7 separate regions of the Homo sapiens genome follow, and all the other regions are linked to region 2. The links are contacts of gene promoters, found by promoter capture Hi-C in human tissues and cell types (Jung and others, 2019). All regions are on one chromosome and are shown on one strand. The core of a region is centred on a gene start or on the middle of the fragment in contact, and the rest is flanking DNA. Distances in the headings are between cores, read along the strand shown. Region 1 overlaps SMG6 (SMG6 nonsense mediated mRNA decay factor). Region 2 holds the start of TSR1 (TSR1 ribosome maturation factor). Region 3 overlaps SMG6 (SMG6 nonsense mediated mRNA decay factor). Region 4 overlaps SMG6 (SMG6 nonsense mediated mRNA decay factor). Region 5 overlaps METTL16 (methyltransferase 16, RNA N6-adenosine). Region 6 overlaps SMG6 (SMG6 nonsense mediated mRNA decay factor). Region 7 overlaps SMG6 (SMG6 nonsense mediated mRNA decay factor).

Region 1 (2,942 bases), core at 338-2,837, 240 kb after region 2:
GGGTGGCTGCTCTAAGAGCACTCTGCAGGGGAAGCAGAATTGGACTGAAGCCCGAGCTACTGCTGCCTATAGCTTGCTCTCTGTGACGCTTTTGCCGCTGAGAATGTACCTTTCTGGTACAGCCGGAGCCGAGAGCTCTAGAAAAGAATAGTTTCTGTCCATGAAGGAACAGTTCAAGAAGAGCAAGCTTACTCTGCCCATGGAAGACCAGACTCCTATCTGGCTTTGTTTGGAACATCTAAGCTCAGGAAATTCAGGTGGGTAGAAAATACCATATTGGGGATCTTCTCATCACTACTTTCATATTGGGAGACATGAGGCAAGGATCCAGCTGGGTCTTATTTAAGAAAGATACCAGGCTGGACACGGTGGCTAACACCTATAATCCCAGCACTTTGGGAGGCTAAGGCAGTGGGATTCCTTGAGGCCAGGAGTTCGGAGTAGCCAAGAGCAGCCCGGGCAACAAAGCAAGACCCCATCTTAGAATAAAATAAGATACTGTTGGCCAAGCAAAGTGGCTCACGCCTGTAATCCCAGCACTTTGGGAGGCCGAGACAGGTGGATCACTTGAGGTAAGGAATTAGAGACCAGCCTGGCCAATATGGTGAAACCCCATCCCTACTAAATATACAAAACTTAGCTGGGTGTGGTGGCACGTGCCTGTAGCCCCAGCTACTTAGGAAGAATCTCTTGAACCCAAGAGGTGGAGGTTGCAGTGAGCTGATATCTCGCCACTGCACCGCAGCCTGGGGTGACAGAGCCAGACTCCATCTCAGAAAAAAAGAAAGAAAGTTACGTTGCAGGGTTTGCAGGGCCTCCTCAAACCCTCAACGATCCCACTAGCAAAGGCAGAGCCACCGCCCGTACCCCACTGTGAAGGGACCTCATGGACAAGGCAATTGTGACTGTATTTCTGATACATTTATTAGTGGCCCGCTTGTTCCGAAGCCCGGGACCTTGGAGCCTCTCTAGATTACTGGAGTAATGCATGCATACCTATGGTTAGGTCCGGAGTCTTTCTGAAGAATAGGGAGAGGGATTGCTGAAGAGAGGCAAGGTCTTTCCTCCCCTGCTTGGCCAGCCCAGTAGCCTGGATCTAGCACCTTAGTTCTGAATAAAATATTTCAGGCCCTGAGTGGTGGCTCGTGCCTGTAATCCCAGTGCTTTGGGAGGCCAAGGTGGGAGGATCACTTGAGGCCAGGAGTTTGAGACCAACAATATAGCAAGACCTCATCTTTACAAAACAATTTTTAAAAATTAGCCAGCTTCCCGCTTGAGCTCAAGAGACTGAGCCTGCTGCAAGCCATGATGACGCCACTGCAAACTCCAGCCTGGACAAATTTAAAAAAAATTTTTTTTGCAGCTTCAACAGCCAGGTAAGCATTCCAGGGCCTCTCCCCTTGGCCCTAGGCTATGTGCCAGCCCCATGCTTCCCACCTTGCCTCTCAGACTGGCTTCCAAACAGCTCAGCCATGTTAGGCAGTGCCCCTCCCACCTCTGAAGAGAGTGGAGATAAGAGGAAAAAAAAATGCCAGCTGCTCAATTATCGAGCACCTACTGGGCCCAGGCATCTCGCTAAGTATTTGATATGTATTCCCTCTGTCTTTTTTTTTCTTTTTGAGTCACGATATCACTCTGTCACCCTGGCTAGAGTGCAGTGGCGTGCTCATGGCTCACTGCAGCTCTGACTTCCCCGGCTCAAGCAATCCTCCTACCTCAGCCTCCTAGTTAGCTCGGACCATAGGTGTGTTGCACCACCATGCCCAGCTTTTTTGTTTGTTTGTTTGTTTTTGACAGACACAGTCTCACTATGTTGCCCAGGCTTGTCTTATCTTTTTTTTTTTTTTTGCAACAGAGTCTTGCTCTGTCACCCAGGCTGGATTGCAATAGAACGATCTGAGCTCACTGTAACCTCCACTTCCTGGGTTCAATAGATTCTCCTGCCTCAGCCTCTTGAGTAGCTGGAATTACAGGAGCCCGCTACTAACCCAGCTAATTTTTGTATTTTTAGTAGAGATGGGGTTTCACCATGTTGGCCGGGCTGATCTCGGACTCCTGACCGCAGGTGATCCACTGCCTCAGCCTCCCCAAGTGCTGCGATTACAGGCATGAGCCACTGCACCCGGCCTGTATTATCTTTTAAACCTCACAAACAACTTGAGCAAACAAAGGCTCAGAGAGGTTAAGTAACTTGTCTAAGGATAAACAGCCAGGAAGTGGCAGTTAGTACTTGAACTCACGTCTGTGTAACTATGAAGCCCAGGCTCTTGTCCAACCTCCTGTATTGCCTTGTCTTGCCTCTTGCCAGAATGGCCCTGTTTTTTATACTTTATTTACCTCATTACTTCCTGTGTGTGCTTCACAACTCCCCTGTTCCCCTGGTTCTCCCTTCAGTGTGAACATCGTCTCCTTCCTAGTAGCCAAATATACGTGTACCTTTTGGGATCTTCAGTAACCCTGTCTTGGGATAGTCTCCCCACCAGCACCAGGTCTTGCCATCTGACCATTTGCCAGTTCCCACCTCCCCTTCTCTAAGAGACTTCAGCACACACCTGGTGGTTACAGGTGGGGACAGCAGGCATCTGTGCAATGCTGGCTGATTGATAATGGCCCTCATTGCCTCCTCTAAGAAGAAAACACAGCTGTTGGGACCAGACACATGGAATGGTGTGGTTGCTGTGGGTGGACCAATGATGTTAGCATTTCATCTTGTGACCCAATGACCCTTCAGCTAGCACAGGCCAACCATAGGACTACGGAGGGTTGGATCTGGACACCGGGATTAGAAATGACTGAGAAAGGCCGGGCGCGGTGGATCACTTGAGGTCAGGCGTTCGAGACCAGCCTGGCCAACATGGCGAAACCCCGTCTCTACTGAAAATACATAAATTAGCCAGGCATGGTAGTGCGCACCTGTAATCCCAGCTACTCAGGAGGCTGAG
Region 2 (2,818 bases), core at 231-2,730:
TCCCCCGGGCAGAGGGGCGCTGCCCTCCCCCATCCGAGAAAGGGGAAGGAGGCGCAGCCCGTCCAGGACCCGCCCCGCCCGGCCCAGGTTCGGCCCGGGTGCCCGCGCCGGGGGGTGGGCGCGGACCTTTCTGCCCCCTGGGCCGCGCGGGCCAGGGCGCGAGCCCCCCGGGGTTCTTGACTCGACTTTACCTCCTTCTTCACGTTCCACAGCAGTTTCTCTTTGACTGCGTCCTCTGCGCTGCCCATGGTGTGGCAGGAGGCGGCGCCGAGCGGTCCTCAGAGCCCCCGCGCCCTCGCCGCCTCCGCGCCTCTCGGCTCAGCGCCCCACGCGCAAGGCGGAGCCCCCGCCCGCCGCGCTCCCGGCCCGCCGCCGCCGCCGCCGCCGCAGCCACTGCCCGGTGCTCGGCTCCGCAGCCATCTTCCGAGCCCCGCACAGACGTCAGGCGGCAGGCCCGGCCCCTTCCCACAGCCGGAGGGGGGTTGCGCACAGCGACGGGGGATCGGGGCGGGGAGAGGCCGTGCGCGCCTAGGGGCGGCAGACCCGGGCGCGCGCCACGGGGGTCGCTGTCATGGCAACGCACCCGCTCCCGCATGGAGGGCGCGAAGCCGCATTGTGAGCGCTGGCCCTGGAGCCCGCGGCCCCGCGGCTGAGAGCGAGCCTCGGTCCCGCTGAAGCTCCCCTGACTTCTGCCTGCTCCCTCTCCCGACGGGACGGAAAGGGCCGGGGCTCGGGCATGGGGTCCCCTGCGGTCCGAGCCTGCCCACGGCGAAGCCGGTGCAGCCTGGCCCCGTGACCCCTCTGAATCCCCGTCCGGCCGTCGCCGTGCAGTTGTCAAGTTTCTGGGAAGATTAGTGGGAGCGCAGCCGCCCGAGCCCGACGGCCGGAGGGTCGCGGCCAGTCCCCCTTGCCGGGTCGCCACGTCCCACAAGGTCCTTCCCGGCCGCTCCGTGGGAGGCGGGGCGCAGGTTGGAGTAACAGGGACGGGCTTGAGCTGGTACGGAACCGGGCAAGGTGAGAGAAGTGTCTTCCACGCGATTCCCAAGCCTCGCTAGGGAATCGAGGGAGAAGAAAGGTTGCTCAGAGTGATAAAGAACATGCCGTTGCAAACGGAAGAGCAACGTGCCCGAATCTAGGTGACAGGAAGGGCTTAGGCCTTTTCGGCACGAATGGAGCCTTCCAGTCAACATGCTTCTACGTGATGCAGCTTTATAGCGCAAAAAAATGACAATGCAAGGGGTACAAACAGCCCTGCTAGACCAACAGCCCGAGCCTCGACAGTCTACATCCGGCGCCTTCAAGCCCCCAACCACACACTGCGAAGTGGGAAAAGTTCCCAGCGCGGCTTGGCGAACCCGCTAACACGGCGCTCTCACGAGCTGCTGGAAAAGACCTTCGCGAGAGGGCGCAGGGAGTCCCGCTCCCTGGAGGGCCCGCCCCCTTGGAGGGGACCGGAAGCGCTTGTCCTGGCCCGGAAGCAGTGCTGACTCCGTACACGCGCGCTGCGGCATGGCGGCCCACCGCCCCGGCCCGCTCAAGCAGCAGAATAAAGCTCATAAAGGCGGACGGCATCGGGGTCGGGGATCTGCACAGCGGGACGGCAAGGGTAAGGAGATAACGTAGAAGGAATAAGGGCTATTTGGCCGTTATTAACTCTTTTTCCTCATGCCCAGACTGAGCTTCTGTCTCCCGTCTGGGCTCCACGCGAAAGGCCCTTTCTAAGGTGGGCGGAGAGGAGTCCCTTTTCTTGACCTTGTGGGGCCGATCACACCAGCCCCTTCTAATCTGCCATTCAGGCCGTCTGGCACTGAAAACCCTAAGCAAGAAGGTGAGAAAAGAACTCAGCAGAGTCGACCAGAGGCATCGCGCCAGCCAGCTCCGAAAGCAGAAGAAGGAGGCGGTGAGAGGAGCGGGATTTGGGAGAATGCGGCTTCTCTGGTGTTCTAGGTGGCTAATGCCTCGAAGTGGAAAATGAGACCGGGAGGAGGGTCCAGGGACAGAGCATAGCCCTAGAGCACGTGTCGAGCGTGCAGGTCTAGCATTCTTTGCTTTGGTCAGAATTCCTGCCACCCCGCTGGCATACCTGTGGTCTTTTACTAGAGAGATGCTGGTTTTGGGTAGGGGGAGCATCTGTGGGAGTGGAAATGCAATGCTGGAGTGAAGTACTGAGACACTGAGATGTTCTCGGATATCTTTCTATTTTCAGGTTCTGGCAGAGAAGAGACAGCTGGGTGGCAAGGATGGCCCTCCTCATCAGGTACTGGTGGTGCCCCTGCACAGCAGAATTTCCCTGCCAGAGGCCATGCAGCTGCTTCAAGATAGGGACACTGGAACAGTACACTTGAATGAATTGGGAAACACCCAGAACTTTATGCTGCTGTGCCCCCGCTTGAAACATCGGTGGTTTTTCACCTCAGCAAGGCCAGGTTAGAGTATACACCAATATTTTGTATTATGTTTGAGTAGTGGTATTTTTTTTTTTTTTTTTTAGAATAATGTGCTGGTGCCAACCACCTCTTCTTACTGTGTCTTCTATCTGCAGGGGATCTGCACGTTGTGTTAGACATGGCTAAAGTAGCTGATACCATCCTGTTCCTCCTTGATCCACTAGAAGGCTGGGACAGCACCGGTGATTACTGTCTTTCCTGCCTCTTTGCTCAGGGCCTTCCGACCTATAGTAAGTGAGTTAGCATTTATTGTGCACCTTTAATTTGTCAGGCACTATGCCTGGTATTTGATACAGGAATACAACTGATGGATCATATTCAGCTGGTGGTGGGATGTACACATATGGATTAAACTTGATCCATTGTTTACA
Region 3 (2,700 bases), core at 140-2,639, 170 kb after region 2:
TCTGCTGTCCTGATACATTAGATCTCCATTCTTTGTCCTATATGTCACTTTTTCTGTCATCACTTTAATCTGTTTTTGCTTTTCTTCTGCATTCTAGGAAGGTTTCTCAAGTTTGTCATCTTGATATATTTTTATAGCATTGATTCTACTCTTTACTACTTCTAGTTCAGGTTTTAAGTCTTCTATTGCATTATTTGTTCTCTTACATTATATCTTATAACCTTTATTTTTTTTGCCTGCCTTTTAGTCAGTCCCTTTATATCTTTTTTTTTTTTTTTTTTTTTTTTTGAGATGGAGTCCTACTCTGTCGCCCAGGCTGGAGTGCAGTGGTGTGATCTCGGCTCACTGCACCCCCTCTGCCTCCCAAGTTCAAACGATTCTCTTGCCTCAGCCCCCCGCGTAGCTGGGATTACAGGGGCACGCGCTGCCACAAGTAGCTAATTTTTTTGTATTTTTAGTAGAGACGGGGTTTTGCCATATTGGCCAGGCTGGTCTCGAACTCCTGACCTCAAGGTGATCTGCCCGCCTCAGCCTCCCAGAGTGCTAGGATTACAGGCATGAGCCACTGTGCCTGGCCTCAGTCCCCTTATATCTGTCTTTGCTTTTTCATTTTTCATTTAGCATACTTCACAGAGTCTATAATTTGAAGAATTCAGTTGAAGGTCAGGAGCAGTGGCCCATGCCTGTCATCCCAGCACTTTAGGAAGTCAAGGCAGACAGATCACTTGAGCCCAGGGGTTTGAGACCAGCTTGGGCAACATGGCAAAAACCTGTCCCTACAAAAAACATAAAAATTAGCCAGGGTTGATGGTATTACACCTGTAGTTCCAGCTAATCAGGTGGCTGAGGTGGAAGAATTACTTCAGCCCTGGCCGTCTAGGCTGCAGTGAGCTGTGATTGTGCCACCATACTCCAGCCCGAGGGACAGAGCAAGACCTTGTCTTTAAAAATAAATTCAATTGAAAGAATATAGCAGATAGTACCTTCTTTTTCATTTGGCATTTTTTCCCCCAAAATATAATTTGTTTCTCTATTTGCGTGCTACATTCTCCTTTTTATTAATATATTGCAGATTATTTTCTTAGACCTCAGCTCTAGTTTCTACGATTTGATGCTGGTCACTTACATTTCTTTGAACAGATTAGGTAGATTCTCACTGGATACCTTCTTTGTCTACAGTAGTTTTTTGTTGTTGTTGTTGTTTTGGAGATGGAGTCTGGCTCTGTCTCCCAAGCTGGAGTGCAGTGGCGTGACCCCCCGGCTCACTGCATCCTCCACCTATCAAGTTCAAGTGATTCTCCTGCCTCAGCCTCCCGAGTAGCTGTGATTTCAGGCACCTGCCACCACGCCCAGTTAATTTTTGTATTTTTAGTAGAGACGGGGTTTTGCTATGTCGGCCAGGCTGGTCTCAGACTCCTGACATCAAGTGATCCGCCCACCTCGGCCTCCCTAAGTGCTGGGATTGCAGGCCTGAGTCACCGCGCCCGTCCATTTTGTTTGTTTCTTTGTGTTTTTGAGACAGTGTCTCACTCTGTCACCCAGAATGGAATGCAGTGGTGTGATCATAGCTCACTGCAGTCTCGACCTCCTGGGTTAAAGCGATCCTCCCCCCTCAGCCTCCTGAGTAGCTGGGACTACAGGCAAGCGTCACCTCACCTGGCTAATTATTTTTACTTTTTTATTAGAGGCAAGGCCTCCCTGTGTTGCCCAGGATGGTCTCAAACTCCTGAGCTCAAGTGATCCTCCCGCCTTGGCCTCCCAGAGTGACCCACAGATAATAGGTGAAATCCCTTGCTCAAGTATAGAGTTTGTACACATTGAATATCCCTAGTCCAAAAATCTGAAATACAAAAGACTCTAAAATCCAAAGCTTGATTTCAGATTTTCCAATTAGGGATGCTCAACCAGTAAGGATAAAGTGCAAATATTCCAAAATCTGAAACACTTCTGGTCCCAGGCATTTTGGATAAAGAATAAGCTATATTAGCAAGTCATTAACCTCAAGGGAGTGGGAAGGGGACCAAGTGGTGTGCAATGTCAATAAATGAATTTATTTTCTACATTTTCTGTTCTGTATACAGTGGAGCTGCTGTATCAGAGCTATCGCTCATGTCTAGTTTTCAGTTTTTTTTTTTTCAGTCTCTTTCATATAAATGATACTGCAGTGTCCTGTCACCTTCTTGGAGCTACCATGTGAAGAAGAAATTCTGTCATTGGGCCACTTTCCATTTAGTATGGGAATTTGCCTTAGACCTCTCTGAACTGCTGAAGCATTGCGAATGGTACTGATTCGTAGCAGTGAGAAAGCTTCCAAGTGGTGGTCTGTGTCTACCTCATGAGCTGTCGTAACCCTTTGTGGTAGGCAAAGTAACACCCCCACCCCAAAGAGGTTTATGTCTTCAATCTCTAAAACCTGTTACATGTTACCTTACGTGACAAAAAGACCTTTGCAGATGTCATCAAGGATTTTTTTTTTTTTCCTTGAGATGGAGTCTCGCTCTGTCGCCCACGCTGGAGTACAGTGGTTTAGTCTTGGCTCACTGTAACCTCTGCCTCCCAGGTTCAAGTAATTCTCCTGCCTCAGCCTCCGGAGTAGCTGGGACTACAGGCACGCGTCACCACGCCTGGCTAATTTTTGTGTTTTTAGTAGAGATGGGGTTTTGCCATGTTAGCCAGGCTGGTCTCAAACGCCTGACCTCA
Region 4 (3,046 bases), core at 337-2,836, 130 kb after region 2:
GAGATTGCGGCACTGTACTGCAACCTGGGTGACAGAGCTAGCATCTGTCTGGGAAGAAAAAAAATATATATACACATATATATTTATCTATATATCTGTAAGGTTATTGTTCACTTTTTTCATATACTATCTCTTGCATAGAGTCCATGCTTTAAAAAGTTATTTTAGAACTCAGTGCTGAGAAAAAGGAGTTGTTTTTCCTGAAGAATTGATATACTTATTCCTTTCTAATAATGAGAACTATACAGTTATTGGTGTTTCCTCTTTTGCTTTGCCTGACAGGAAATTTTAAGTCAAATTTTAAGTCCGTTTATGGTAGGCTGTTAATCCATGTGATTGACATTTTTACCTTTTTCTTGGTCTTGATTCTCTAATCTACTTTAATGTTATCTCATTTTATGTGATTTTGCTGTAAGTTGTCACAAATCTTTTGTGAATTGTGGTATAAAAGAGTAAATATAAAAAATTTTAATCTAGTTTAAAATTAGATACAGGCCAGGCGTGGTGGCTCACGCCTGTAATCCCAGCAATTTGGGAGTAATTGCTGTAATCCCAGCAAGATGGACGGATCACTTGAGGTCAGGGGTTCGAGACCAGGCTGGCCAACATGGTGAAACTCAATTTCTACTAAAAATACAAAAATTAGCCAGACATGGTGGTGAGCACCTGTAATCCCAGCTACTTGGGAGGCTGATGCAGGAGAATCGCTTGATCCTGGGACGCGGAGGTTGCAGTGAGCTGAGATCGCGCCATTGCACTCCAGCCTGGGTGACAAAGCGAGACTCAGTCTCAGAAAAAAAACCAAAAACTAGATACATACAGGTTTCAAACAATGTATATTGGTTTCGGTAAGTGTATTGACAAATTGACCAGTCCAGCAACTGAGTACAAATTTGGAAGGGCTATGTTACTATTAAGGCAGAGTTTTACTCTGTTGCCCAGGCTGGAGTGTAGTGGCATGATCTCAGCTCACTGCAACTTTTGCCTCCCAGGCTGAAGCGATCTTCCTTCCTAAGCCTCCTGATTAGCTGGGGTTATAGGCACGTGCCACTACGTCTGGCTCATTTTTGTATTTTTAATAGAGGTGAGGTTTTGCCACGTTGCCTAGGCTGGCCAGGAACTCCTGAGCTTAAGTGATTCGCCTACCTCGCATCCCAAAGTGTTGGAATTATAGGCGTGAGCCACCATGCCCAGCTGGAAGCATTATTATTAAAAGGTATGTCGATTCCACAGCTTCTAGGTCAGGAGACTAGCTGGCACCTTAGCACATTTCTAGTCACCTTCATTCATTGCTGCTTTCTCACTTCCTTCCTTGGCATAACTGCTTTATCTAGCTTATTATTCTCCTGACCTCTACTTTAAAACTAGATGCACCACAGTGGGTGGGGTTGGATGAAGTCATTACGTTCGCAGTTTGGTTTGGACATTGATCATGGATTCTGAGGCCTTGAGGAACCATTTTGGGATGAGTTTCTGGAGCAGAGTCAAATGAATGTGCAGATCTGGATATTCACAAGGTAACCACCAAAAAATTGTGCCTTATCATTGGTCTTATTTTTCAGTACTGACCCCTCAAAGTTTGTTTGATGACTCTAATCTTTACATTCTGGAAGCTTCCTGAAAAAGCTAACTTCTCAGAAGGCCTCCAAGAGGTCCTTTTTATTCTAGGTACCTTTCTGTCTCACCTATCTCGGAATTGTTTTATTTTTGGCGTTGTTTACAAACACTGTCAGACTTTTAAAAATCCTTAGCTGGGCATGGTGGCACATGCCTGTGGTCCCAGTTACTTCAGAGGCTGAGGTGGGAGGATTGCTTGAGCCTGAGAGGTCAAGGCTGTGGTGAGCTATGACCATGCCACTCAACTCCAGCCTGGGCAACAGAGCAAGACCCCATCTCTTAAAAAAAATCGTTCAGGAAGCCACAGAATGAAAAGAAATTGAGTTAATTTGTAAAAATGGAAGCAGAACACTTCCCTGCCCCTCTGCCTGCCCTGTCAATGGAGTTTCTCTGAATCAGGGTGTCTGCAGGCATTATCCCTCCCTAATTTTTACTTCTGGCTCAAAGTGCTCCTGAAGCTTCACGCCAGCAGAGGTGGGTTTCAAGGTGTGTGTCTGAATCAGCAGCCAAATCTCTCCTTGCTTTATTAAAAGTGATATAGCTATATTTCTCCCTCCTGACTGTTAACAGGAAAACTTCCTTCTAGATTGGCTAATGGGTATGCCTCTTAGGAAGCCTCTTTCATATCACTTCTCCTCCACAACCTTAAATAACTTTTGACACAGGACACCTCATATCTGCTGTATGGGATTCCATAGGGACTACCTGTCTTGTTTAATTAAAGACCTGCCATGCTTTTCTACTCTTCCTTTGCTTTTCCTCAAATACTGGGAGAGAGGCAAGCTTCCCAAAACGTCTGGCAAGCAGTGTAGAAGCAGAAACTCTGTCCTGCAAGATCTGCTTGTAACTCTTCCAAATGAGATGCTGGAATGGCAGGCCCTCGTTCTCCTGGGCCCCATTACTAAGGGACTCGTCCAGTGCCAGCATGCTATTCTGCTGGCAGCAGCTCTGTCCTGCCCAAGAGGGGATGTGTATTGAATAACTCTGGGCTCAGACAGTAACCTGTAAGTAACAAAAATATCAATCCAGAGACACAACTAAGGTGGAAATGGCCAAAGTGTGTTTTGACTGGCAACTTACTTATTTATTTATTTTCCAGGAAATCTATTGGAGTACCATTTCTGAAACTGCATGGGTATTTCCTGGAACAAGGGAAGCACCCATTTAGAAGTGTTTTCATTTTTTCTTGTAGAGAGTAGATGGTTTGCTGTCTTTCTTGCCAAGATGTATTGATAGAGCCCCCAGGACATTTCTTGGCCCTGGAGTCCTATATAAAGAAGAAGGGAAAGCCAGGGTGTCCTCTGGAGGGGGCCTAGCACTTCTGGAGATCATTGTCTCACCTGCAGAAGGCAGCAGCTGTGTGGTAATGCTGTACAGAGCTTTGGAATCAACCTGATGGAGGGCGAGAATTCTCTACTCAGCCACTTGC
Region 5 (2,950 bases), core at 401-2,900, 150 kb before region 2:
AATTCCATACTGATTACTTTTAGGTTGTTCCTAAATTTTCTGTAGTACAAAACTTAAATTTAACAGTTCCTCTTTTATCACTGGACTTATTTTTCTTTCTTTTTAAGCTTCACTGAATTTAGGGTAAGTCACTGGGCATTGCTAGGAAATCGCAGTATTCGTTTTTTTTTTTTTTTTTGAGTCTCGCTCTGTCATCCAGGCTGGAGTGCAGTGGCGTGATCTTGGCTCACTGCAACCTCCACCTCTCAGGTTCAAGCGATTCTCCTGCCTCAGCCTCCTTAGTAGCTGGGGTTACAGGCACGTGCCACCACGCCCAGCTAATTTTTTTTGCATTTTTAGTAGAGACGGGATTTCACCGTCTCTATTAAATGGCGATTACAGTTGCCTGCCACCACGCTCGGCTAATTTTTGTACTTTTAGTGGAGACGGGGTTTCACCGTGTTGGCCAGGCTGCTCTCAAACTCCTGACGTCAGGTGACCTGCCTGCCTCGGCCTACCAAAGTGCTGGGATTACAGATGTGAGCCACTGCGCCCGGCCGAAATCACAGTATTCTTAACTATGCCTGGAAAGGGCAAAGAGGTGTTTGGATGACTAGATTTTTCTTTTCTGTTAGTTGCTCTTTAGTTAGCATAGGAATGGCATTTAAAAGATCAGCCTGAAGGCCTGGCTTCAAGCTGCTTTATGCTTGTAATCACAACATTTTGGGAAGCTATTGCTTGAGGCCAGGAGTTCAAGATCAGCCTGGTCAATATAGTGAGACCCCTTCTCTACAAAAAATAAAAAAAAATAAAAAAAAAAGAATGAAAAGTTTAGCTTGATTGATCGAGGTACAATTTTTTATTTTGCCAGTAGGATTTTGGATTCTTTGGTTAACTTAGGGTTATCAGTAATGGTTGTTTCCATTGTTTCAGGATCTGTGTTTTTGTATATTACTATCTAATTGCTTATTTGACCCATGAGAGTGTTTAAAAAGTGGACATTTTCTTCAATAAGTCTTCTGTATCAGAGAGTTGAAAAGTGGGAAGGATGTCAGTACAGTACGCGAATAATAATTTAAGGCCACTTAATTTTTTTTATTGTTGTGAGAAACGCAACGTAGAATGTCCCATCTTAATCCAGTTTAAGTGTACAGTGTGTTAACCCTGTGCTTGTTGTTGTGCAGATTTCTAGAACCTTTTCATGAGTTAGACTACTTTAGATACCTTTACCTTAAAGTAGAATCATGCAGTATTTGTTGTTTTTGACTCGCTTATTTCACTTAGCTTGATATCCTCAAAGACTTATCCATGTTCTAGCACGTGACAGGATTTCCTTTTTTTTGTTTTTTTTAATTTGTTTTTTTGGTGGGTGGGGAACGGAGTCTTGCTCTGTTGCCCAGGCTGGAGTGCAGTGGCACTATCTCTGCTCACTGCAACCTATCCGCCTCCCGGGTTGAAGCGATTCTCCTGCCTCAGCCTCCCGAGTAGCTGGGATCATAAGCGCCCACCACCAAGCCTGGCTAATTTTTGTATTTCTAGTAGAGATGGGGTTTCACCATATTGGCCAGGCTGGTCTCAAACTCCTGACCTCAGGTGATCTGCCCACCTCAGCCTCCCAAAGTGTTGGGATTACAGGCGTGAGCCACTGCGCCGGGCTGGGATTTCCTTCTTTTTAAAGGCAGAATAGTATTCCATTTTGTGTATATACCACATTTGCTTTATCTGTTAATCTGTCAGTGGACCTTTAGGTTGCTTTCACCTCTTGGCTGTTGGGGTTAATGCTGCAGTAAATATGGGTGTGCAGATATCTTTTTGAGGTCCTGTTTTCAAATCTTTTGAGGTTTTTTTCATTTTTTAGAGTTGAAATTGTCTATATTTAAGGTGTACTGCATGATTTTTATTTTATTTTATTTATTTTATTTTATTTGAGACTGGGTCTTGCTCTGTTGCCTGGGCTGGAATACAGTGATGCGATCACAGCTCACTGTAGCCTTGACCTCCTGTGCTGAGTGATCCTCCTGCCTCAGCCTCCTGAGTAGCTAAGATTATAGGTGTCTGCCACCACATCTGGCTAATTTAAAATTTTTTTTTGTAGAGACAGGGTCTCTTTTTGTTGCCCAGGCTGGTCTTGAACTCCTGGGCTCAAGCAATCCTCCCGCCTCAGCCTCCCACAGTGCTGGGATTACAGGTGTGAGCTTCCACACTCTGCCCTCATTTAATCTTTAGCTGATTCCACAGTGGTTTCTAACTCTACCACTACCAAAGCAGCTCTTTAAAAGGTCTCCAGCAGCCTCATGTCACTGACTCTGATTTTCAGGGCTCCGTTGCCTTCTGAGCAGCAGGTCACTCTGCTGGTTGGTTTATCCTTCATGGATACCCTCTTGCCTTGGCCTCCTCAGCACCACACTGGAAAACTGGTTTTCCTTCTTCCACTCTGGTGTTCCTTTGTCTCCTTGTGGAACTTCCTCTGTAATGACTGTGCATACAGCTATTAAAGGAGTTTTCAAAGCTTGCGCCGCAGCTCTCTTTCCTTCGCACTTTATATTTTCTCCTTCATCGCTGTTATCCGTGCCAGGGCTTCACTTGTTTGTTTGCAAATCACTTACATGTTTATTTCTACACACCTCTTCTCTGGGCTCCATCTCCGCTTAAATGTCTCAGATGCAGCTCAGATTTATATTTCTCTTCAAAAACGGTTCTCTGCCAGAGTTACTAACTTCAGTTAGGGTGGCACCGCCTATCCTGTTGAGCAAGCTAGAACCTTGGGAGACTCATGTGAAACACAGCATCCCTTAGCTCACATATCATTTCGTTGCTAAATCTCACAGATGTTCTCTCCAAAATATCTCTAATTCCTTTCACTTTTCCCTATCTCTGCCATTGCTACCTTTATCTAGATATAGCCTTTTTTTTTTTTTTTTTTTTTTTGAGACAGGATCTCACTCTGTTGCCCAGGCTGGAGTGCAGTGGT
Region 6 (3,026 bases), core at 355-2,854, 220 kb after region 2:
CATCACAACCCACCTTGGTTCTTGTCTTAGTTGCCCCAAGATAAGGGTATTAATGTGGTACTGCCGCTAAGGTCTCATCTGTATTCTTACTCAGCCTGAAAAGGGTTGAACATCAGTTGTCCTTTTTCTCACTCCAGTTCCACCCACTGTTAGACTTGCAGACAGTTTCCCAAAGTTTCTGGTATGGGGTTGCCTAGTACTGATGGATGCTTTCTTCATTTTTATTTATTTATTTATTTTTAGTCATTTCAATGGGAAACTGGAAGGATAGAAGAGAAGCATATGCTTAATGTCATTCTGATTAAACAAATCAATGTTAGTTTTGTTTTCATTTTGGGGAGTATTTTTTGTTTTGTTTTGGGATGGAGTCCCACTCTGTCACCCAGGCTGGAGTGCAATGGCGCAATCTAGGCTCACTGCAACCTCTGCCTCCTGGGTTCAAGCTATCCTCCTGCCTCAGCCTCCCAAGTAGCTGGGATTACAGGCATGCGCCACCGTGCCCAGCTAATTTTTGTATTTTTTTAGTAGAGACGGGGTTTCGCCATGTTGGCCAGGCTGGTCTTGAACTCCTGACCTCAGGTGATCCGCCTGCCTCGGCCTCCCAAACTGCTGAGATTACAGGCGTGAGCCACCGTGCCTGGCCTCAATGCTAGTTTTTAAGAAATGAGTTTCTAGCCTTCCAGATTGAAATACTTGGAAGGTCATTGTTCATTTGATAAAGGTAGGCATTGGACTTAGATTGTGCTTTCATGGGTTTATATGCATGGGTTTGTTACTTCATAACTAGTTCCACCACTCTCGTGTGACACTCAGGAGGAGATAATTTAGTGATTTCATGAAGATGCTCCTTAAGTCTTTCTGTGTTGGGTCTCAACCCTGTAGGCTGGATATTAATAGGGACCATACCCCAAAGGTCCAGGAAAGGAAAGGTGAAAATAATAAGATCTCCAGAATGGAGTAGGAGTGATGGTTTTGAGGCCATGGGTTTTAGATGATCTAGCTGTTTGCTTTCATTTGATAAGAATGCCATATAGCTCACTTGGCAGCTGTGTAAGAGAAAGCAGTCCTGATAACCCAGAGACCCATTTAAGAATTGTGTGCTCTCGTGGAGCCAGCACCCTTTCCCAAGCCGGCTTTGTTCAAGACCCAGCTGGAGAGCAGGGATGTGTGCTGTATTCTTTGTAACCCTAGTGCATGTTATAATGTTCAGGAATTGGTAAGCAAATGAGTATTCATTTAGAAATTGGGCCTTAGGCCCAGCATAGTGGCTCATGCCTGTTACCCAAGCACGCTGTGAGGCCGAGGCGGGTGGATCACTTGAGCCCAGGAGTTCGAGTCCAATCTGGGCAAATAGGCCCTATCTCTACAAAAAATAAAAAAAAAAATTGGCCAGGCATGGTGGCACACGCCTGCAATGCTAGCTGTTCACTAATCAGGAGGCTGAAGTCGCGGGGAGGATCACTGGAGCCTGGGAGGCTGGGAGATGGAGGCTGCAGTAAGCCTTGATCATGCCACTGCACTCCAGCCTGGGTGACAGAGCAAGACTCTGTCTCTTAAAAAAGAAAATAAAAGGCTGGGAACAGTGGCTCACACCTGTAATCCCAGCACTTTGGGAAGCTGAGGCCAGTAGATCACTTGAGCTCAGGAGGTCAAGACCAGCCTGGTTAACATGGTGAAACCCCATCTCTACCAAAAATACAAAAATTAGTCAGGCATGGTGACGCATGTCTGTGGTCCCAGCTACTCAGGAGGCTGAGGCAGGGGGATTGCTTGAGCCTGGGAGGCAGAGGTTGCAGTGAGCTGTGATTGCGCCACTGCACTCTAGCCTGGGTGGCGGAGTGAGAGTCTGTCTCAAAAAAAAAAAAAAAAAAAAGTTTGGAGCTCATTACACCTGGCTTTTATTGTTTGCTGTTTTGCTTTTTAATATAGCTAAAGTATGCAGATTTATTTAGCTTTAAGTTTTGTTCTCAATTCCCTAGTGGAAAAAAAAAAGCACCAAAAAAATTCAATTTTTACATTTCAATTCAAATGCAAGAACTTGGAACAGACCATTGCCTTTTATTTATTTATTTATTTATTTATTTATTTATTTATTTATTTATTTTTTATTTTATTTTTTTTGAGACAGAGTCTTGCTCAGTCACCCAGGCTGGAGTGCAGTGGCACGATCTCGGCTCACTGCAACCTCCGCCTCCCGGGTTCATGCCATTCTCCTGCCTCAGCCTCCCGAGTAGCTGGGACTCCAGACGCCCGCCACGACGCCTGGCTAATTTTTTTTTTGTATTTTTAGTAGAGACGGGGTTTCACCATGTTAGCCATGATGGTCTCGATCTCCTGACCTCGTGATCCACCCGCCTCAGCCTCCCAAAGTGCTGGGATTACAGGCGTGAGCCACCGCGCCCGGCCGACTTTTTTTTTTTTAAGAGGGAAGCGGTAATAGGAAATTTAATCAGGAAGATTTCTAAGCTTCAATTGTAAAGATACCTCCTTTTCCCAAGAGTTAGGCCTAATGAAGACTATACCTACCAGTACGGAGGGGGAGGGGATAAATCACAACTAAAGACCTTGGCACTTCTGTAAGAAATTTAAATAACAGGCAGACATATAGAGATTTGTAAATATGTACTTGCTGCCAGATAAACCACAGGGAAGATACTGTATTTGTGGTCCAGGGAAGTTTAAATATTTGTGGTCAAACTTAAAATTCAACGTAAAACTCTCATCTGTGATGGAAACTTTCCAGAAACTGCATGGAGCGGGTGTGCAAGCTGCATAAACTCTCAAAGGCCTCTCCTCTCACCAGGCTGAGCTGGAAAAGCCTGTTCTCCTTCCTTCAAACTGTGTAGCTAACAAGCCCTTCGATCAGAGAAGGAACTCCTTGATGCTCCAGCCACCACCCAAGAAACCCGCTCTAAGGACCTTTCGGGCCAGGCACAGTAGCTCATGCCTGTAATCCCAGCACTTTAAGAGGCCAAGGCCGGAGGATCCCTTGAACCTAGGAGTTCAAGGCCAGTCTGGGCAATATA
Region 7 (3,009 bases), core at 41-2,540, 190 kb after region 2:
ATCTCAGTTGTGATTTTCACTTGCATTTCTCAATAACTAATGATGTTGAACAGCTTTTCATGTGTTCAGTGGCTGTTGGTATTTCTTTGGAATACTGTTCAAATATTTGCCTACTTTTTTTTTTTTTTTTTTTTTTTTGAGACAGTGTTTTGCTCTTGTTGCCCAGGCTGGAGTGCAATGGCGCAATCTTGGCTCACCGCAACCTCCGCCTCCCAGGTTCAACCAATTCTCCCGCCTCAGCCTCCCGAGTAGCTGGGGTTACAGGCATGCGCCACCACGCCTGGCTAATTTTTTTTTTTATTTTTAGTAGAGACGGGGTTTCTCCATGTTGGTCAGGCTGGTCTCGAACTCCTGGCCTCAGGTGATCCGCCCACCTCAGCCTCCCAAAGTGCTGGGATTACAGGCGTGAGCCACTGTGCCCGGCCATATTTGCCTACTTTTAAAATTGGGTTGTCTTTTATTGTTGAGTTGTAGGAGTTCATAGATAGATAGATAGATAGAAAGATTACATTGAGTTGTAGGAGTTCATAGATAGATAGACAGACAGACAGAGAGGGTCTCACTGTGTTGCCCAGGCTGGTTTTGAACTCCTGGGCTCCAGCGATCCTCCTGCCTTGGCCTCCCAAAGTGCTGGGATTACAGGCATGAGTCACCACACCCAGCCTTGAGTTGCAGGAGTTCTTTATAGATTCTGGATACAAGTCCTTTATCAGATAAATGATTTACAAATATTTTCTCCCTATGATTTGATTGTCCTTGCACTTTCTTGAATGTTTTAATTTTTACGAAGTCCAATTAATCTGGTTTATTTTATTTTGTTACTTGTGCTTTGGTGTTATAAAGACATTTTTAAACAATAAGGACTGGGAGAAGCTGGTGTGCGCCTGTATTCCCAGCCACTTGGGAGGCTAAGACAGGAGGATCACTGGAGCCCAGGCATTGGAGTCCAGCCATAGTGAGATCCTGTCCTCCCGCCAAAAACAAAAACAAAACAGAGTTTATCACCAAATATCCTCACTAAACGAAGTTTCTTCTACCTGAAGTACACACTTCAGAAAAGTATCCTAGATTCCAAAGAAATGGTAAACAGTGATTGTAACTATAAAATTGGATCAGATTGATTACAAAGGAACCATGGAGTTAAAAGCTTCCTTAGAAGACATCAGGGCCAGTCTCTTATCTAATGAAAAAATAGTCCTCCAGTTTTCTCAATGGCCTCTGCTCCAGATGCTTCCCCAGAATTTACTCTATTATGAGACAGTCACTATAAAAAGTTCCTCCTCAGGCTGAGTGAGGTGGCTTGTGCCTGTCATCTCAGCACTTTGGGAGGCCAAGGTAGGAGGAGCACTTGAGCCCAGGAGTTCAAGACCAGCCATGCAACATAGCAAGACCCTGCCTCTGCAAAAAAATTTTTTAAAAATTAGCGGGTATGGTGTGCACACCTGTGGTCCTAGCCATTCAAGTGGCTGAGGCAGGAGGATCACTTGAGCCCAGGATTTCAAGGTTACAGTGAGCTGTGATTGTGCCACTGCACTCCAGCCTGGGTGACAGAGCAAGACCGCATCTCTAAGAAAAAAAAGTTCCTTCTCAAACTGAACACAGCCTGCCTTCCTGTAATTCCCACTTAATGATTTTTTAAAAGTTTTCTCAAAATCACAAAGTCTGTTTTTTCTATATCTGACACACCTTAGTTATACTTGAAATTCTCTTTACGTTTTCTTTTCTCTAAGCTAAACAAACCAGTGCAATCAAATAGATTCTTGGCCAGTGCTGCGAAATATTATAGGACTTTATGTAATGATGCAGTGTTTAGTACTGTAATGATGGAAAGTTACTATTTCCACACCATCCTCTATGGTAGCCACTGGCCACATGTGACTTTTGAATACTTGAAATGTGGCTAGTGCAACCGAAAAACAAATCTTAATGTAGTTAAATTGAAATATCCACATGTGGCTAGTGGCTACTGTATTAAACACTGCAATTCTAGATCATTCTCCTGGCCAGATTTCTCTGTGCCATTACCAGCAGCATCAGATTCACCTGGGAACTTGTAATGTTTTAGGCCCTACCTCAGCCTTTTGAATCATAAACAGTTGAGGGTGGAGCCCAGCAGGCTCATTTAACAAGCTCTCCAGGTGATTCCAATGCACTAATACTTGAAAGGCAATTCCAGTTTGTCAAGGCTTCTGTAAAAAGCAGTGCTCAGACAAGGTCTGACATGCATGGATTTCACCTAAAGACAGCTTCAATGGCTTTTTTTTTTAATTGAATACTACTTTCTAAATATTGCATTGACTGCATGTTATAAAAATGAATACAATGTGGATATGAAGAATTTTTTTTTTTTTTTTTGAGATGGAATCTCACTCTGTCACCCAGGCTGGAGTGCAGTGGTGCAATCTCGGCTCACTGCAACCTCCGCCTCCCAGGTTCAAGCGATTCTCCTGCCTCAGCCTCCCAAGTAGCTGGGACAACAGGTGCGTGCTACCACACCCGGCTGATTTTTTTGCATTTTTAGTAGAGACAGGATTTCACCATGCTAGCCAGGATGGTCTTGATCTCCTGACCTCAGGATCCACCCACCTTGGCCTCCCAAAGTATTGGGATTACAGGTGTGAGCCATCGTACCCGGCCTGGATATGAAGAATTTAAAAAAATAAAGTGTCAGGCCAGGTGCAGTGGCTTACGCCTGTAACCCCAGCACTTTGGGAGGCTGAGGCATGCAGATCACTTGATATCAGGAGACCAGCTTAGGCAGCATGGCAAAACCCCATCTCTACTAAAAGTACAAAAACTAGTTGGGCATGGTTGCACATGCCTGTGGTCCCAGCTACTTGGGAGTTTGAGGTGGGAGGATCACTGGAGCCTGGGAGGCGGAGGTTGCAGTGAGCCGAGGTCTCACTACTGCACTCCAGCATGGGTGACAGAGTGAGACCCTGTCTCAAAAATAAAGTGCCCCTTAACAGTTTAAAAAAAATTAGTTAACAGGCAGTTTCCCAGCTGGGC

Evidence for each region. The method cuts DNA at HindIII sites, captures the fragments that hold promoters and counts their contacts. A contact is called where the count stands out against the background at its distance.
Region 1: a fragment that was not itself captured here is called in contact with the fragment with the promoter of TSR1 in region 2 in 3 of the 25 tissues and cell types used here (IMR-90 fibroblasts, ovary and pancreas).
Region 3: a contact is called between a fragment that was not itself captured here and the fragment with the promoter of TSR1 in region 2, in 4 of the 25 tissues and cell types used here (adrenal gland, aorta, heart left ventricle and 1 more).
Region 4: a contact is called between a fragment that was not itself captured here and the fragment with the promoter of TSR1 in region 2, in 1 of the 25 tissues and cell types used here (pancreas).
Region 5: a fragment that was not itself captured here is called in contact with the fragment with the promoter of TSR1 in region 2 in 2 of the 25 tissues and cell types used here (IMR-90 fibroblasts and mesendoderm cells).
Region 6: a contact is called between a fragment that was not itself captured here and the fragment with the promoter of TSR1 in region 2, in 1 of the 25 tissues and cell types used here (small bowel).
Region 7: a fragment that was not itself captured here is called in contact with the fragment with the promoter of TSR1 in region 2 in 1 of the 25 tissues and cell types used here (pancreas).

Annotation. Positions count from the first base shown.
Region 1 is chr17:2,092,100-2,095,041 of GRCh38, reverse strand. The region is part of intron 13 of SMG6 (SMG6 nonsense mediated mRNA decay factor); the gene reads left to right. The region is part of intron 1 of SMG6-AS1 (SMG6 antisense RNA 1); the gene reads right to left. Among named protein-coding and RNA genes, the nearest start is that of SMG6-AS1, 3.8 kb to the right of the region's middle. The HindIII fragment of the contact is 3,990 bases long and covers 1-2,942 here.
Region 2 is chr17:2,335,119-2,337,936 of GRCh38, reverse strand. It overlaps TSR1 (TSR1 ribosome maturation factor), which reads left to right and starts at 1,480. Exons shown (of 15, transcript NM_018128.5): 1 at 1,480-1,606; 2 at 1,797-1,900; 3 at 2,207-2,426; 4 at 2,543-2,677. The coding sequence starts at 1,510. SGSM2 (small G protein signaling modulator 2) reads right to left here and starts at 436. Exons shown (of 24, transcript NM_014853.3): 1 at 192-436. The coding sequence starts at 248. RefSeq lists silencers at 1-62, 93-192, 293-402, 503-812, 843-972 and an enhancer at 1,203-1,312. The HindIII fragment of the contact is 7,910 bases long and covers 1-2,818 here.
Region 3 is chr17:2,164,720-2,167,419 of GRCh38, reverse strand. The region is part of intron 13 of SMG6 (SMG6 nonsense mediated mRNA decay factor); the gene reads left to right. Among named protein-coding and RNA genes, the nearest start is that of SMG6-AS1, 76 kb to the right of the region's middle. RefSeq lists an enhancer at 1,431-1,725. The HindIII fragment of the contact is 7,332 bases long and covers 1-2,700 here.
Region 4 is chr17:2,202,832-2,205,877 of GRCh38, reverse strand. All of the region lies in intron 10 of SMG6 (SMG6 nonsense mediated mRNA decay factor), which reads left to right. Among named protein-coding and RNA genes, the nearest start is that of SMG6, 99 kb to the left of the region's middle. The HindIII fragment of the contact is 6,435 bases long and covers 1-3,046 here.
Region 5 is chr17:2,486,961-2,489,910 of GRCh38, reverse strand. All of the region lies in intron 2 of METTL16 (methyltransferase 16, RNA N6-adenosine), which reads left to right. Among named protein-coding and RNA genes, the nearest start is that of METTL16, 23 kb to the left of the region's middle. RefSeq lists a silencer at 474-573. The HindIII fragment of the contact is 4,023 bases long and covers 1-2,950 here.
Region 6 is chr17:2,111,603-2,114,628 of GRCh38, reverse strand. All of the region lies in intron 13 of SMG6 (SMG6 nonsense mediated mRNA decay factor), which reads left to right. Among named protein-coding and RNA genes, the nearest start is that of SMG6-AS1, 23 kb to the right of the region's middle. The HindIII fragment of the contact is 7,204 bases long and covers 1-3,026 here.
Region 7 is chr17:2,140,018-2,143,026 of GRCh38, reverse strand. The region is part of intron 13 of SMG6 (SMG6 nonsense mediated mRNA decay factor); the gene reads left to right. Among named protein-coding and RNA genes, the nearest start is that of SMG6-AS1, 52 kb to the right of the region's middle. The HindIII fragment of the contact is 3,350 bases long and covers 1-2,965 here.